Linked DNA regions of Homo sapiens: regions 2, 3 and 4 are each linked to region 1. The links are contacts of gene promoters, found by promoter capture Hi-C in human tissues and cell types (Jung and others, 2019). All regions are on one chromosome and are shown on one strand. The core of a region is centred on a gene start or on the middle of the fragment in contact, and the rest is flanking DNA. Distances in the headings are between cores, read along the strand shown.

The links. Contacts are between HindIII fragments. The study calls those that stand out against the background at their distance.
Region 2: a contact is called between a fragment that was not itself captured here and the fragment with the promoter of SH2B2 in region 1, in 1 of the 25 tissues and cell types used here (dorsolateral prefrontal cortex).
Region 3: a contact is called between a fragment that was not itself captured here and the fragment with the promoter of SH2B2 in region 1, in 3 of the 25 tissues and cell types used here (lymphoblastoid cells, mesendoderm cells and spleen).
Region 4: a contact is called between a fragment that was not itself captured here and the fragment with the promoter of SH2B2 in region 1, in 2 of the 25 tissues and cell types used here (lymphoblastoid cells and spleen).

Annotation. Positions count from the first base shown.
Region 1 is chr7:102,284,815-102,288,133 of GRCh38, forward strand. SH2B2 (SH2B adaptor protein 2) reads left to right here and starts at 2,054. Exons shown (of 9, transcript NM_001359228.2): 1 at 2,054-2,280. RefSeq lists silencers at 1,372-1,951, 2,022-2,561. The HindIII fragment of the contact is 12,688 bases long and covers 1-2,706 here.
Region 2 is chr7:101,325,284-101,328,616 of GRCh38, forward strand. No RefSeq gene overlaps it. Among named protein-coding and RNA genes, the nearest start is that of IFT22, 5.1 kb to the left of the region's middle. The HindIII fragment of the contact is 3,914 bases long and covers 1-3,333 here.
Region 3 is chr7:101,631,708-101,634,825 of GRCh38, forward strand. No RefSeq gene overlaps it. Among named protein-coding and RNA genes, the nearest start is that of MYL10, 4.0 kb to the left of the region's middle. The HindIII fragment of the contact is 5,470 bases long and covers 1-3,118 here.
Region 4 is chr7:101,564,641-101,568,171 of GRCh38, forward strand. It overlaps LINC01007 (long intergenic non-protein coding RNA 1007), which reads right to left. Exons shown (of 3, transcript NR_103749.1): 2 at 1,846-1,993. Among named protein-coding and RNA genes, the nearest start is that of LINC01007, 2.6 kb to the right of the region's middle. RefSeq lists enhancers at 1-82, 83-944. The HindIII fragment of the contact is 8,608 bases long and covers 1-3,531 here.

The sequences.
Region 1 (3,319 bases), core at 804-3,303:
TGCAGCCCACCAGGCCAGGGTCCCCTGTGCTACCTCTGTCTCCATTTTAGTTCTGAACAGTCTAAAGCATGTGTATCCAGGGGCCTTTCTTTGGGGTCCCCGTCCCAGCACCCCTCATCTCCCCCATGAGGACTTCTTCCAAGCCCCTCAAGCCTCCTGCCCTCAGGGACCCAGGATGGACCTTTCCTCCCTGACCTTCATTCCTATCCCCAGCGAGGCGACAGCTGCTCTTGGCCAACCACGCCCCCTCCACCCCCACAGCCACTTCCACATCTCCATCAGTTCCTCCTTGTGGGTCCGAGGCGCTCTGCCGCCGGCCCCTCCTCACTTCTTCCTCCCTGGGGATGGATCCAAGCTATTGTCCTGCCCATGGCTTCCCATCTCAGGACCCTCTCTGGCCGCTATCATCCCAGCAGTGGAGTTCAGCCCACTACTCTGAACCAGGTTAGTCCACCGCGGGTCAGGCTCTCCCCTCTCCCAGGAGGGTGGAGACCACAACCAGGCCATGTATGGAGCTTCCCTTTCTCCCACTCTCGGGCACCCCCTCCTCCCCCTTCCCGGCCTCATTCATAGGTGTCCTGGTTCCCAACCAGGCGTGCAGGCCTGTGTGCAGCTCCGATCGAGGGCTGGCCCACTGCCGAAGCTTTCATTAAAGTGTCTGCTGGCCTGGTCCTGCGGAGGGAACAGAGCCGAGATGTGGGGCAGGGAAGGGGTCTGCCTGTCTTCCGTGCCCCCGTGGAGGGCAGCACCGGGGTTTTGGGCAGCAGGTGAAGGCTCTGTCCCCTCCACCTTCAACTCTGGAAGCCCCACCTTTCCATCCCTAAGAAGGGTTTGATAAAAACCCTTGTCTGTAAATTAGAGATGGGAAATGGCTCTGGGAAAAGTCAGAGGTCAGTTTGGGCCCGGGAGGGCGACAGATGGAGGCAGCTCCGGCTGGCAAGGAGACCAGGACAGAACTGCCAGAGGTGGGGGCAGGGGACAAGGAGGGAGATGAGGGGAGAAGACACCCAGGGGTCCCCCCCTGCTATCTCCAGGAGCAAGACTACTCTCTTCTCTGAGCGGCCCTTTCCACACCTCTGCCCCCACCGAAGCCCTCCCTCCCCTCTCAGACCCCTTCCAGGCCTGCTGAGCCCCCTGCACCTCTTTCAGGAAGCCTCCCAGAGCCCCCGCGCTGTGCCCTCAGCACCAGGGGTCAGGCTACAAATGCCCCGCAAAGCCCAGCGGGACTGTTTCCTCAGCCCCACTGGTCTCTGCCCTAAAGCAGGCGAGTTCTGGAGCCAGGCAGGGGTGAGGAAGGTGCCAGGGTTGTGGCCCCTCATCGCCCCTCTATGATCTCTGACACCTCTCCGGGTGGCATCAGGCCCCCATCACAGCGAAGGCTGGGTGGTGGGGGCACTGCGCTCAGGGGGGCCGTCCCGCCCTGTGGCCCGGGGGCGATTTCCCGCACCGGAGGGCTGCAGGGAGGGGGCGTGGTGGCGCCCTCGAGATTTATGAGAACCAGGCGTCGACTTCCTCCGTTGCGACATCCAGGCCTCCTCCAGGCTCCCATTGTCCCTGCTGCGGAGAGTCTGGCCACAGCGGCGGCTCCCGCGAAGCACCCGTCAGCGAGGGGCGCTTCGAGGGCGTCCGCGTCCCATACACCCGCCACGCAGGACATTCCCCCGGCCCCACGCTCCGCGCTCCCGGGGCCACCACCACCGCGGGCTCGAGGGGTGGCCTCCACGAGGAGGAGTGGGAGTCCCGCGCCTGGCCTGGGGCCGGCTCGGCGACATGGGGACCCCCGCCCAGATGGGGCGACTCGGAGCCGGCTCCTAACCCCTCTCTCCGGGCCCCAGGACCGGGCAGTCTCGGCACCGCAGCTGCGGGGAGCCAGCAAGCACCGGCCACCGGCGCCGCTCGGGCTCCGCGGATGGCCGGGGGCGGGGCCTGAGCGGCGCAAGTGGGGGCGGGAGGGGGCGGGGCCAGGACGCGCGAGGGGGGGCGGGGCCGGGGCTCGCGGCGGGGGCGGGGGCGGGGCGGGGCCGGGAGGCGCGCGCCTCGCGGGCGGAGGGGCGCGCCGCGCTGGGGCTGGGCTTGGAGCGCGCGGAGCTCGGCTGCCAGAGAGCCGCGCGGGGGACGCGCCGGGACCGCGAGGAGCGCAGGAGCCTTCGAGGCGGTGAACGAGGGAGGGAGCCCAGTCCGCCGCGGGCCATGAGCCACCGGGCCCGGGGAGCCCGGCCGCGGTCCGGGCAGCGCTCAGCCGGCGCCCCAGCCCGCTCGGCCGCAGCTGCGCGCCTGTAGGTATGGCCTCCTTATACCCAGTTCCTCGCTCCCTGGTCCTTCCCCCGGGACCCCTGTCTGTCCCCGGGGACGTGCGCTGTGTGCGCACCGCTGCCCGAAGGAGAGCGGCCGCACGCGCCTTGGTCCGCGCGTGTCGTCTTTGTGTGCGCGGGTGGGAGGGAGGAGGGCGCGCGAGGGAGGGGAGGCGCCCCCGGCTGGGATCTGCTCCCCGATCCCCATCCCGGGCGGGGCGGGGAGCCGCTGGAGGGGCCGAGCCGCCTCTGGAGCAGCTGCGCCCCCGCCCCCTGCTAGGGCCCCGGCCGGGTAGTGGGGCGAGAGCAGCCGGGTCCTTAGAGGAGGGGTCTCTGGTTGGGGGAAGGGGTGCCCAGGTCTCTTCCCTACGCTGGGAGCGCTGGGAGGGGGCGTCAACCTAGAATGAGGGTGAGGGCCACGGGATGGGATCGGGGAGGACCTCCTCCAGGCCACAGGCACGCCCTCCCTTTGGCCCAGGCCCCCCTTTCTCGACCTGCCCAGCCGGGGAGCTCCCCGGAGCCCCCGATTGCCGGGAGGATCGTGGAGGGTGCCCAAGAGGCCGGCGCCTTTAAGAAGGGGCGGGTTCGTGCCCTCCATTCAGGCCCTTGGGCCTCGGCCATTGATGAACCTGCGGGCTGCGCGGGCCGGAACCGCGCCAGCCCAGCGGGCTGAAGCCGGGCAGAGGCAGGGACGCATCCTGGCCCCCTGCAGCCCCGAAGTGGGGGCCTTCAGGGAGGGAAGTCTGCAGTGACTGGAGCCTCTCAGGAGCCACGCAAGGCAGACCGGGCAGCCCCAGGCGAGACTCTGAACACGAATAAGCCAGGATCTACGTGCACTTCGAGCTAGTGCAAGGGAGAGCCTCAGGCTAGGCTGTCAGACCTGGGTGGAGCCCTACCAATGCCCCCGAGCCAACATCACCTACCCTGTAAAATGGGATGGTGCTGCCTGCCTCCTGGCTAAGGGACCGGCAACTCCCGGCAGGAATTGCGTCCCAGAGTCAGGTCCCTGGAGCTCCTCTGGGAGGACT
Region 2 (3,333 bases), core at 283-2,782, 960 kb before region 1:
TCCCCTATGAATGCTGTCATCTTTTTTTTTTTTTAATTTAAAAAAAGGAATAAAGCTGTAGCCAGAGATGATGTCCAGCAAGTTTGGTTTAGGACAAAATCAATGATGGACAAAATCAATTTAGGACAAAAAATGATCAACTTTTCATCAATTCTCATTAGAAAGCCTGAGCTATACTTTCAATATAAAAAATATTTCCCAGCCAACTGAAGATAAAGCTTTTGGCAAAGCAGTGAAACAGGGATATGGCTGGACCAGGAGCCTATAGCCTGCATTTGGCCGTGTCCTGTAGAAGGGATTTTGGGAGGTGGTGTTGTGCCATGGAAAGAGTACCGATTTTGGAGTAAGACAATTTGAAAGTAGGTGAGTGAGGCCAGGTGTGGTGGCTCACACCTGTAATTCTAGAACTTTGGGAGGCCAAGGCGGGCAGATCGCTCGAGGCCAGCAGTTCAAGACCAGCCTGGCAAACATGGTGAAACCCCGTCTCTACTAAAAATACAAAAGTTAGCCAGGTGTGGTGGCAGATGCCTGTGATCCCAGCTACTTGGGAGGCTGAGGCAGGACAATCGCTTGAACCCAGGAGGTGGAGGTTGCAGTGAGCCGAGATTGTACCATTGCACTCCAGCCTGGGCAACAAGAGCGAGACCCTGTCTCAAAACAAAACAAAACAAAACAAACAAACAAACAAACAAACAAAAACAACCACATACCTGAGACTGGGTAATTTATAAAGAAAAGAGGTTTAGACCTGGCACAGTGGCTCACGCCTATAATCCTAGCACTTTGGGAGGCTGAGGCTGGCGGGCAGATCACAAGGTCAGGAGTTCAAGACCAGCCTCGCCAACATGGTGAAACCCCGTCTCTACTAAAAATACAAAAATTAGCCGGGCGTGGTGGTGCACATCTGTAATCCCAGCTACTCGGGAGGCTGAGGCAGGAGAATCTCTTGAACCCAGGAGGCAACTGTTACAGTGAGCCAAGGTTGCACCACTGCACTCTCCAGCCTGGGCGACAAGAGCAAAACTTCCTCTCAAAAAAAAAAAAAAATTATAAAATTAGCCAAGCCTCAGTTTTTCTCTCACTAAAATGGGGATCCTAGAATTGCTTGAATCCAGGAGGCAGAGGTTGTAGTGAGCCAAGATCGTGTCACTGCACTCCAGCCTGGGCAATAGAGTGAGACTCTCACAAAAATAAAATAAAACAAAATAAACTAAACTGAGGATCCTAAAACTAATCCTATAGGGTTGTTACGAGGATTGAATGTGATGAGGCATGCAAGTTATTTAGTCTAATTCCCGGCACATGACAGATGGTTGATATCTGATAGCTGTGATCACTTATAGCACTCATAGGCCTTTAGAATATTTTTGTGATGCGTTTTTTTTTTTTTTTTTTTTTTTGAGATGGAGTTTCGCTCTTGTTGCCCAAGCTGGAATACAATGGCGCGATCTCTGCTCACTGCAACCGCTACCTCCTGGGTTCAAGTGATTCTCCTGCCTCAACCTCCTGAGTAGCTGGGATTACAGGCATGTGCCACCACTCCTGGCTAATTTTTTATTTTTAGTAGAGACAGGGTTTCTCCATGTTGGTCAGGCCGGTCTTAAACTCCCGACCCCAGGTGATCTGCCCGCCTTGGCCTCCCAAAGTGCTGGGATTACAGGCGTGAACCACCATGACCGGCCTCATGATGCTTTTGACTAATGTCTCCACACCCACAGAATTTTCCCATTGCATTTTTTTTTTTTTTGAGACAGGGTCTGTCTCTGCCACCCAGACTGGAGTGCAGTGGCATGATCTCAGTTCATTGCAACCTCCACCTCCCAGGTTCAAGCAGTCCTTGTGCCTCAGCCTCCCACAGGTACATGCCACCATGCCCAGCTAATTTATTTATTTATTTTTTCGAGATGGAGTCTCACTCTGTCCCCCAGGCTGGAGTGCAGTGCAGTGGTGCAATCTCGGCTCACTCTAAGCTCCACTTCCCGGGTTCACGCCATTCTCCTGCCTCAGCCTCCCGAGTAGCTGGGACTACAGGCACCTGCCACCACGCCTGGCTAATTTTTTTGTATTTTTAGTAGAGACGGGGTTTCACCGTGTTAGCCAGGATGGTCTCGATCTCCTGACCTCGTGATCCGCCCGCCTCAGCCTCTAATTTTTAAATTTTTTGTAGAGATGGGGTTTTGCCATGTTGCCCAGGATGGTCTCGAACTCCTGAACTCAAGCGATCCACCTGCCTTGGCCTCCCAAAGTGCTGGGATTACAGGCGTGAGCCATTGCGCCGGGCTGTCCCGCTACATTGATTATATCTTTTGAGCACTAAAACTTTATGGTTTTTTCTGCCTCCCTTCGTTGCCCTCCCAGGAGAAAGCACTTACATGTTTAACTTACTGCAGATAAATTAATGTCTCTAACATATGATGCACGCCTGCTGAAATTTCTTTTTTCTTTTAGGGACAGGGTGTCACTGTGTCACCCAGGCTGGAGTGCAGTGGCGAGACCATAGCTTACTGCATCCTCGAGCTCCTGGGTGCAAATGATCTTCTCATTTCAACTTCCCGAGTGGCTAGAACCACAGGGTGTGCACCACTATGCCTGGCCATTTTTTTAAAAAACATTTTTTTGTAGAGATGAGGTCTCCCTAAGTTGTCCAGGCTGGTCTCCAACTCTTGGCCTCAAGTGATCCTCTCATCTCGGCCTCCCAGCATGAGCCACCATGCCTGGCCTAAAATTTATTTTTATATAGCCATTTTGTGCTTGCTAATGTGAGCTGATTTCCTGCTTTTCCAACTTAGTTTGCTCAAAATTCTGTATATTTTATCTGCTTAAAGTGAAGGCTACAGTACATGAAACAGGCAGCTGCAAAGTCCAACTACACTCATGACCTAAAAAGTCTTGATATACCCTCCACACTGCATTTACGGTCAAGGGCAAATGAGATCCTATAGGCACACAAAATTATATCTGATAGTGCCCAGGAATGACTGACACACCTGTGGACTGCTTAGAGCACCTGCATTACTGGGCTTGCAACTTTATACATTCACAGAAAGACTTGCTTTTATTTATTTATTTATTTATTTATTTATTTATTTATTTACTTATTTATTTATTTGAGACAGACACTCTGTCGCCCAGGCTGGAGTGCAGTGATGAGATCTCAGCTTACTGCAAACTCCGCCTCCCAGGTGTAGGTGCTTCTTCTGCCTCAGCCTCCCGAGTAGCTGGGACTACATGTGCCTGCCACTGCACCCGACTAATTTTTGTATATATATATTTTTTCGAGACGGAGTTTCTCTCTTGTTGCCCAGGCTGGAGTGCAATGGCATGATCTCAGCT
Region 3 (3,118 bases), core at 450-2,949, 650 kb before region 1:
CACCCTGACCTTGGCTGTTCTGCAAATTCTTCCCGAAATCTCCTTCCTCCAAGCCTTTGGCCACATTGTATGTTTCCCTACTCATCACAATCAGTCTCCAGCCTGCTTTAGAACACCTCTCGGACGGCCGTGGTGGCTCCCGCCTGTAATCTCAGAACTTTAGGAGGCCAAAGTGGGTGGATCACCTGAGTTCAGGAGGTCAAGACCAGCCTGGACAACACGGCAAAACGCTGTCTCTACTAAAAGTACAAAAATTAGCCAGGCGTGGTGGTGTGCGTCTGTAATCCCAGCTACTCGGGAGGCCGAGGCAGGAGAATCGCTTGAACCTGGGAGGTGGAAGTTGCAGTGAGCTGAGATAGCACCACTGCACTCTAGCCTGGGTAACAGAGTGAGACTGTGTCTCAAAAGAAAACACAAAAAACAAAAAACAACAAAAACAAAAGGAAGCCAACAGTGCTGCCTTCAGTCTGTGGCCGAAGGCCCAAGAGCTCCTGGCAAACCACTGGTTTAAGTTCAAGAGTTCAAAAGCTGAAGAACTTGGAGTCTGATGTTCGAGGGCAGGAAGCTTCCAGCACAGAAGATGAAGGCTGGAAGACTCAGTGAGTCTTCTTATTCCACTTTCTTCTTTCTGCTTTATTCTGGCCTCACTGGCTGATTAGACGCTGCCCACACAGATTAAGGGTGGGTCTGCTTCTCTCAGTCCACCGACTCAAATGTTAATTTCCTCTACCAACACCCTCACAGACATACCCAGAAACAATACTTTGCATCCTTCAATCCAATCAAGTTGATACTTAATATTAGCCATCACACCTACCTACTGAATTTGAGAGCCTAGGCCACTTTCTGACCTTCCCTGAGCAATCCCAGGCTGCCGTAAAAAATGCCTGCAAATTCTTTGACACTTTTTCCATGGAGAGGCGGGATCTATAACATCATTCCTTGCCAACAGGCAGGCTTTTGTGACTGCTTTGACCAAGAAAGTAGGGTAGAAGTGTCACTATGTGACTTCTGAGGTTAAGTCACAAAAAGCCATGGAGCTTCTACCTTATTTGCTGGGACTTTGTGCTGGAGCCCTGAGTCACTCTATGACGAGTCTGACTACCATGAGGCGGCCATGTTGTAGGGAAGACCAAGTCACACGAAGAGGCCCCGTGTCTGTACTCCAGTCAGCAGTCCCTGCCTTTGAGTCATCATCCGAGCCTCCCAGACAACAAACGTGTGAATGACCAGTCTTCAAGTGATTCTGGCACCAGCCATGGAGTCATCCCCATCCTTAGAGTCCCCCGAGCTGAGGCCCTAGACATTATGACAAGCCACCCTCACCATCCCTTTTCTGAATTTCTGATCCATAAGAACCCCTGAGCACACTGCTATGCTTTGGGGTTTTTTTTTGTTTTTTGTTTTTCTTTGAGATAGAGTCTCACTCTGTTGCCCAGGCTGGAGTATAGTGGTGTGATCTCAGCTCACTGCAACCTCCACCTCCTGGGTTTAAGTGATTCTTCTGCCTCAGCCTCCCGAGTAGCTGGGATTACAGGCACCCAACACCACGCCCAGCTAATTTTTGTATTTTTAGTAGAGACTGGTTTCACCATGTTGGCCAGGCTGGCCTTGAAGTCCTGACCACAAGTGATCTGTCCGCTTCGGCCTCCCAAACTGCTGGGATTACAGGCATGAGCCACCATGCGCTGTGCTTTGGGCTGATTCTTTACAAAATATCATAATAACCATCACAGTGAGATTTAAATGTGCTCTGTAGGGGGACAGGCTACACAGCCATAGTCTACTCCTCAGGGCTCTGGGGAAGATGAGAGCATGAATTTGAAATCAGATGAAAGTGACTTCAAGTCCTGCTGGACCACTTGCTCTGTGACCTCACCCACATCACTGAATTTCCCAGAATCCTCAGCTTCTCCACCTGTCACATGGAATCAGTTTTCACTTGGCAAGTTTGTTACATGCCTGGCGCTTGTAGACTGCGGCTACCAATCCTGTCTGGTTATTGGCAGAGGACATGCTGCCTGTGACAAGACACTGAGCCAAGAGATGCCTCTGTTGGGCTTCCAGAACGTGCTTCCTGTGCCAAGGCTCCAGTGTCCTTAGTGGAAGAGAGACGCCCTCACGGCCTGCCCTTTCTGGCCTGGCCAGGGCAGCATGACTCATTGGATGACCCCTCGCCCCATCCCAAATGTCACAGCCCTGCACCATGGCTTCCCTTAGACCCTGTGGCCCAAGGACACACAGTAGGCTGGGTCCACAGGAAACACCCAAAGCCACAGAATGCCATTTGCCCACTCCCCCATCTGTATCTCCTTTACCCATCTCTGTCACATATTGAGAAAATGGCTCCAGATTGGGGGTGCACACAGCCCCTGAGCTCCTGCAGCCATCAAGGCTCCTGACAGGCTGGAGCCGACCGAGAACTAGAGGCCGGCTCAGGCCAGAGCAGCCACACATAGCATTTCAGACAGACCCTGACTCAGGGCCAGTTCGCCTCTTTCTCCCTTAAGCCAGAGGAAATAGCCTCGTATGTCCATCAACTCTCTCATTGCCAGGTGGGATGCCTGAGATGTTGACAGTTAGAGACGGTGGGCTGTCTTTTCCGAAAGCCCCTGGTGTCCCCTCCTCCCCAGCTCCCGTCCCATCTGGAGCCTTCTTCCAACTGGAGATCACTTAGAAAAGACAAAGAAACCTTTAAACTAAGAATGCCTCCTGGAATGCCTCTTGCCTGTTTTATAGCTGCAGCTCAGCGGGCTGGTGAATGTGCTCTCTCGCCCACAGAAGCTCAAGAGAGGCATCCCATTCAAGGGGCCTGTGGTCACAGCATCCTGCTGTAAAAATAGCTGTGGATGGCCAGGCACGGTGGCTCACGCTTGTAATCCAAGCACTTTGGGAGGCAAGGTGGGAGGATCACTGAGGTCAGGAGTTCGAGACCAGCCTGGCTAACATTGTGAAACCCCATCTCTGCTTACAAAAAAAAAAAAAATTAGCCGGGTGTGGTGGCACACACCTGTAATCCCAGCTACTCAGGAGGCTGAGGCAGGAGAATCATTTGAACCCAGGAGGCGGAGGTTGCAGTGAGCCGAAATCACACCACTGCACTCCAGCCTGGGAGATG
Region 4 (3,531 bases), core at 867-3,366, 720 kb before region 1:
AACTGTCCTACCGGAATGGCAGAAACAGCCCGACTCTGGCTTTGGGCTCAGCCAAGGGTGGTCAAGGTGCCATTGGGGTCCCCCAGCTTCACTCGTCACCTCCCTAAATCCAAAGCGCACCCTCCCAACTCTGTCTCTTCCAGTCGGCTGTGAGCGTCCTGTGTGCCAGGTCACGTCTGCGTGCCCAGCTCAGGCCAGGTGCAGAGCAGATGAATGACTGCAAAGGAATCACTGGCACAAGGCAGGACATTCACGGTGGGGGCGTGGCTTCTTCCCTGACACTGGCACATAGCAGGACATTCACGATGGGGGCGTGGCTTCCTCCCTGACACTGGCACATGGAGGACATTCACGATGGGGGTGTGGCTTCTTCCCTGACACTGGCACAAGGCGGGACATTCACGACGGGGGCGTGGCTTCTTCCCTGACACTGGTACACGGTGGGACATTCACGATGGGGGCGTGGCTTCTTCCCTGACCCTAAGAGGCCATGTTGGAGGTTATGGGCAGGGGCAGGTGGGAGCCAAGACTGGCCTACATCAGAACAGCAGCCCCCTCCCCACTCCAACCCTCCACGCCTGCAGTTTCCACCACCCCCGAGATTTCTGGAACACCTCTCTCCCAGACCGGCTTTATGGATTATATAAAAAAAGAATTTCATGAGGTTTTCAGTTAATTGAATTCCAGGGAGATTTATTCCCAATGTTATTAATAAATTCTAATGCCACCTATAACTTTCAATTGCCAGTTAATTAACTTGCAATGGGTGCATTGTAAAAGGCAAATTAAATACTTTTTCAGGCAGGGGCTGGCAAATTTAATGAGCTGATGTGTCCCAAGGGAGACGGCCGGGCTCACACATCCCATCAAATACTCCTCCCATCAGCAGATGAGAGTGTGATCTGGGTGAGTGACAACTGGACCTCCGCATCCTCATCTGTAAAAAGGGATCACAAAACCTGCCTCCAGGACCCTCAGATACCTGGAGTGGATGCTGTGTTTTATTCATACACAAATACAACGAAGGGGCCCTGGGGCGGTGAACTTTATGTGTCAACTTGACTGAGCCATGGGGTGCCCAGACAACTGGTCAAACACGCCTGCCCTGCCCAGCCCAGGTCAATTCATCTGGTCAGTCTACAGGGGATTGGGGGCAGGCCAGCCTCTGCCTCCTTCTGAGTAGAGAACAAGGATGGCAGTAAGGACGGCAGGGAAGACAAGGAGCAGGGGATCCCAGGGAGGACCACCGGGCTCACTGGAGGGAAGAGAGTCCTCCCCTAGGAAGGGACACAGCTGAGGAGTCTGAGAGATTTAGTAGGAGTTGTCTGGGTGAAGGAGAAGGCAGGGCAAGTTGGGGAGGCACGAGCACGTGCAAAGGCCCAGTGGTATGAGAAGGGGAAAAGCACTGGAAATTGTTGGAAATGCTCTAGGGTGGAGCCGGCAGGGGAAATATGATAATGTGGGCTTATTACAAGGCTACAGGGATCTCAGTGGACCCCAAGGACAGGAGCTGGAGTCAGAACAGGTCCCAAGAGAGTAGTACTGGATCTGAGTTAGTCCCAAGGCCTCAGTGTCAGCAGGAGATTACTGATTCCCATGGGCTCTGCCTGTTGCCTGTTTGTCCCTCTTCTTGTGGCAATGTGACATTTTGTCTTGGCCTCATAGCTTCAGCATGCTCATGACTTCTGCTTCTTCTGATGGCTTGCCATGACCTCTCACTGGCTATCCTTCAACAGCAGTCAGCTTTGCAGTGACACAATATTCAAACTGGGTGTCAAGCACCTTCATTGTCTCCCCAGTGACCCAGCACGCAGGCTCCCTAAAGGTAGAGTTCTCAGGCAGTACCTGGTGCTGTAACAAATATCCCATTGACCTGGGGGCGACATTTCTCACAGCTCTAAAGGATAGGAAGTCCAAGATCAAGGTGCCAGCAGATCCGGTTCCTGGTGAGGGCTCTCTTTCTGGTTTGCAGATGGCCGCCTTCTTGCTGTGTCTTCACATGGTGGGGAGAGAGAGAGGAAGCAAGCTCTGTTGTGTCTCTTCTTATAAGGACATTAATACCATTATGAGGGCCCCACCCTCATGAACTCATATAAACCTAATCACCTTTCGATGGCCCCACCTCCAAATGTCATCACAATGGGGATTCAGGCTTTAACATACAAATTTTAGGGGCACATAAACAAGTGGTCTACAGCAGTAGAATGCCTTGTCCTTGTAGGCAGACAAGGACAGACCTCGGTCTGGTCTCCCCTAGGCCTAGACACAGATACTTGATAAGGAGGGAGGATTCTAGGGAACCAAGGTCAGAAGCCTCATAGAGCAGGAAGTATGGGTTTTGTGGCCTGTTGATGGCAGAAGCTTCTATCTTAGGCTTAGAGTCTCCAGCTAGGCTCTTGCTGGGAAAACAGTGCAGTCTTTGCTTTCTTTTATATCAGAGCTGCATTTTCAAACGTAACCATCCCACACCCACTCTCCAGCTATTCGAGGACTTTGATGACAGCCCTCCAGTTTCTCAGGATGTAACAGCAGCAAATCACTGTGCACTTTCTCACTTGCTGCCCATGATCCCCCATGCTCCAACCACCGGGCAGGCCCATATTGGGCATGAAAGGATCTTGGCCTTAATTTTTCTTTTGCCTCGTGGCGATAAAGGGAGCATTTTGTTTTTTTCAAAAGACAAAACCAAAAGGTGCATCTTAATTAGGGAACAGGTGCAGTGAGACCAGACTGAACTCTGCCAGGCAGCAGCCTTTCACTTTGTGCGCACAATGCTTTTAATGCAGCCCCGTTGCCATGGCGATTACCATGTCTCAGCTTACTGAGGTGGCGTTGCAAACCTGTAGGGAAGAAATGGATTATTCAATAAATGATGCCGGGACATTTGGTTAGCTATTTGGAAGGAAATAAAATTAGCTCTTTCCTTCACACCATACATTAATATAAATTCCAGAGGACCTAAAGAATTAAATGTAAGAAAGGGAAATCATTAAAAAGCAAACAAATGTTTGATCTTGGGGGTACATGGAAACATTTTAAACCTAAAAGCAGTAGAAAAAATAACAAAGATTAAGGTAGAATTTAATACATAAAATTTAAATCTCCTTGTTTTAAAAATTATTTAGTTAATTTTATTGGGAGACTACAAAAAAGAATAAAATGGTTGCAAGAAATATGACAAAAGATTAATACCTCTAATATGTAAAAAGTAATTACAAATCAATAAAAATGAACAGTCCAATAGAAAAATAGTGAATGAGAAATGCCCAAAAGATGAAATAAAAATATGTAATAAAATATTTTTAAATATTCAGCTTCATTGGTCATCAAAGAAATGCCCATTAAAACATCAATGAGATTTTCTCCTATAGCTTATCAAAGAACGTTTAAATATAATTATAGCATTCAATCTCATTGAGTGGAGTAAAATTGAGTATTCCTATTCATCTCACATGTGAAAATACAAGTTGGTATAAAATTTCTAGGAAAAAAATTAAGTTTATGCCACAAGAGATTTTAAAATGTTCACAC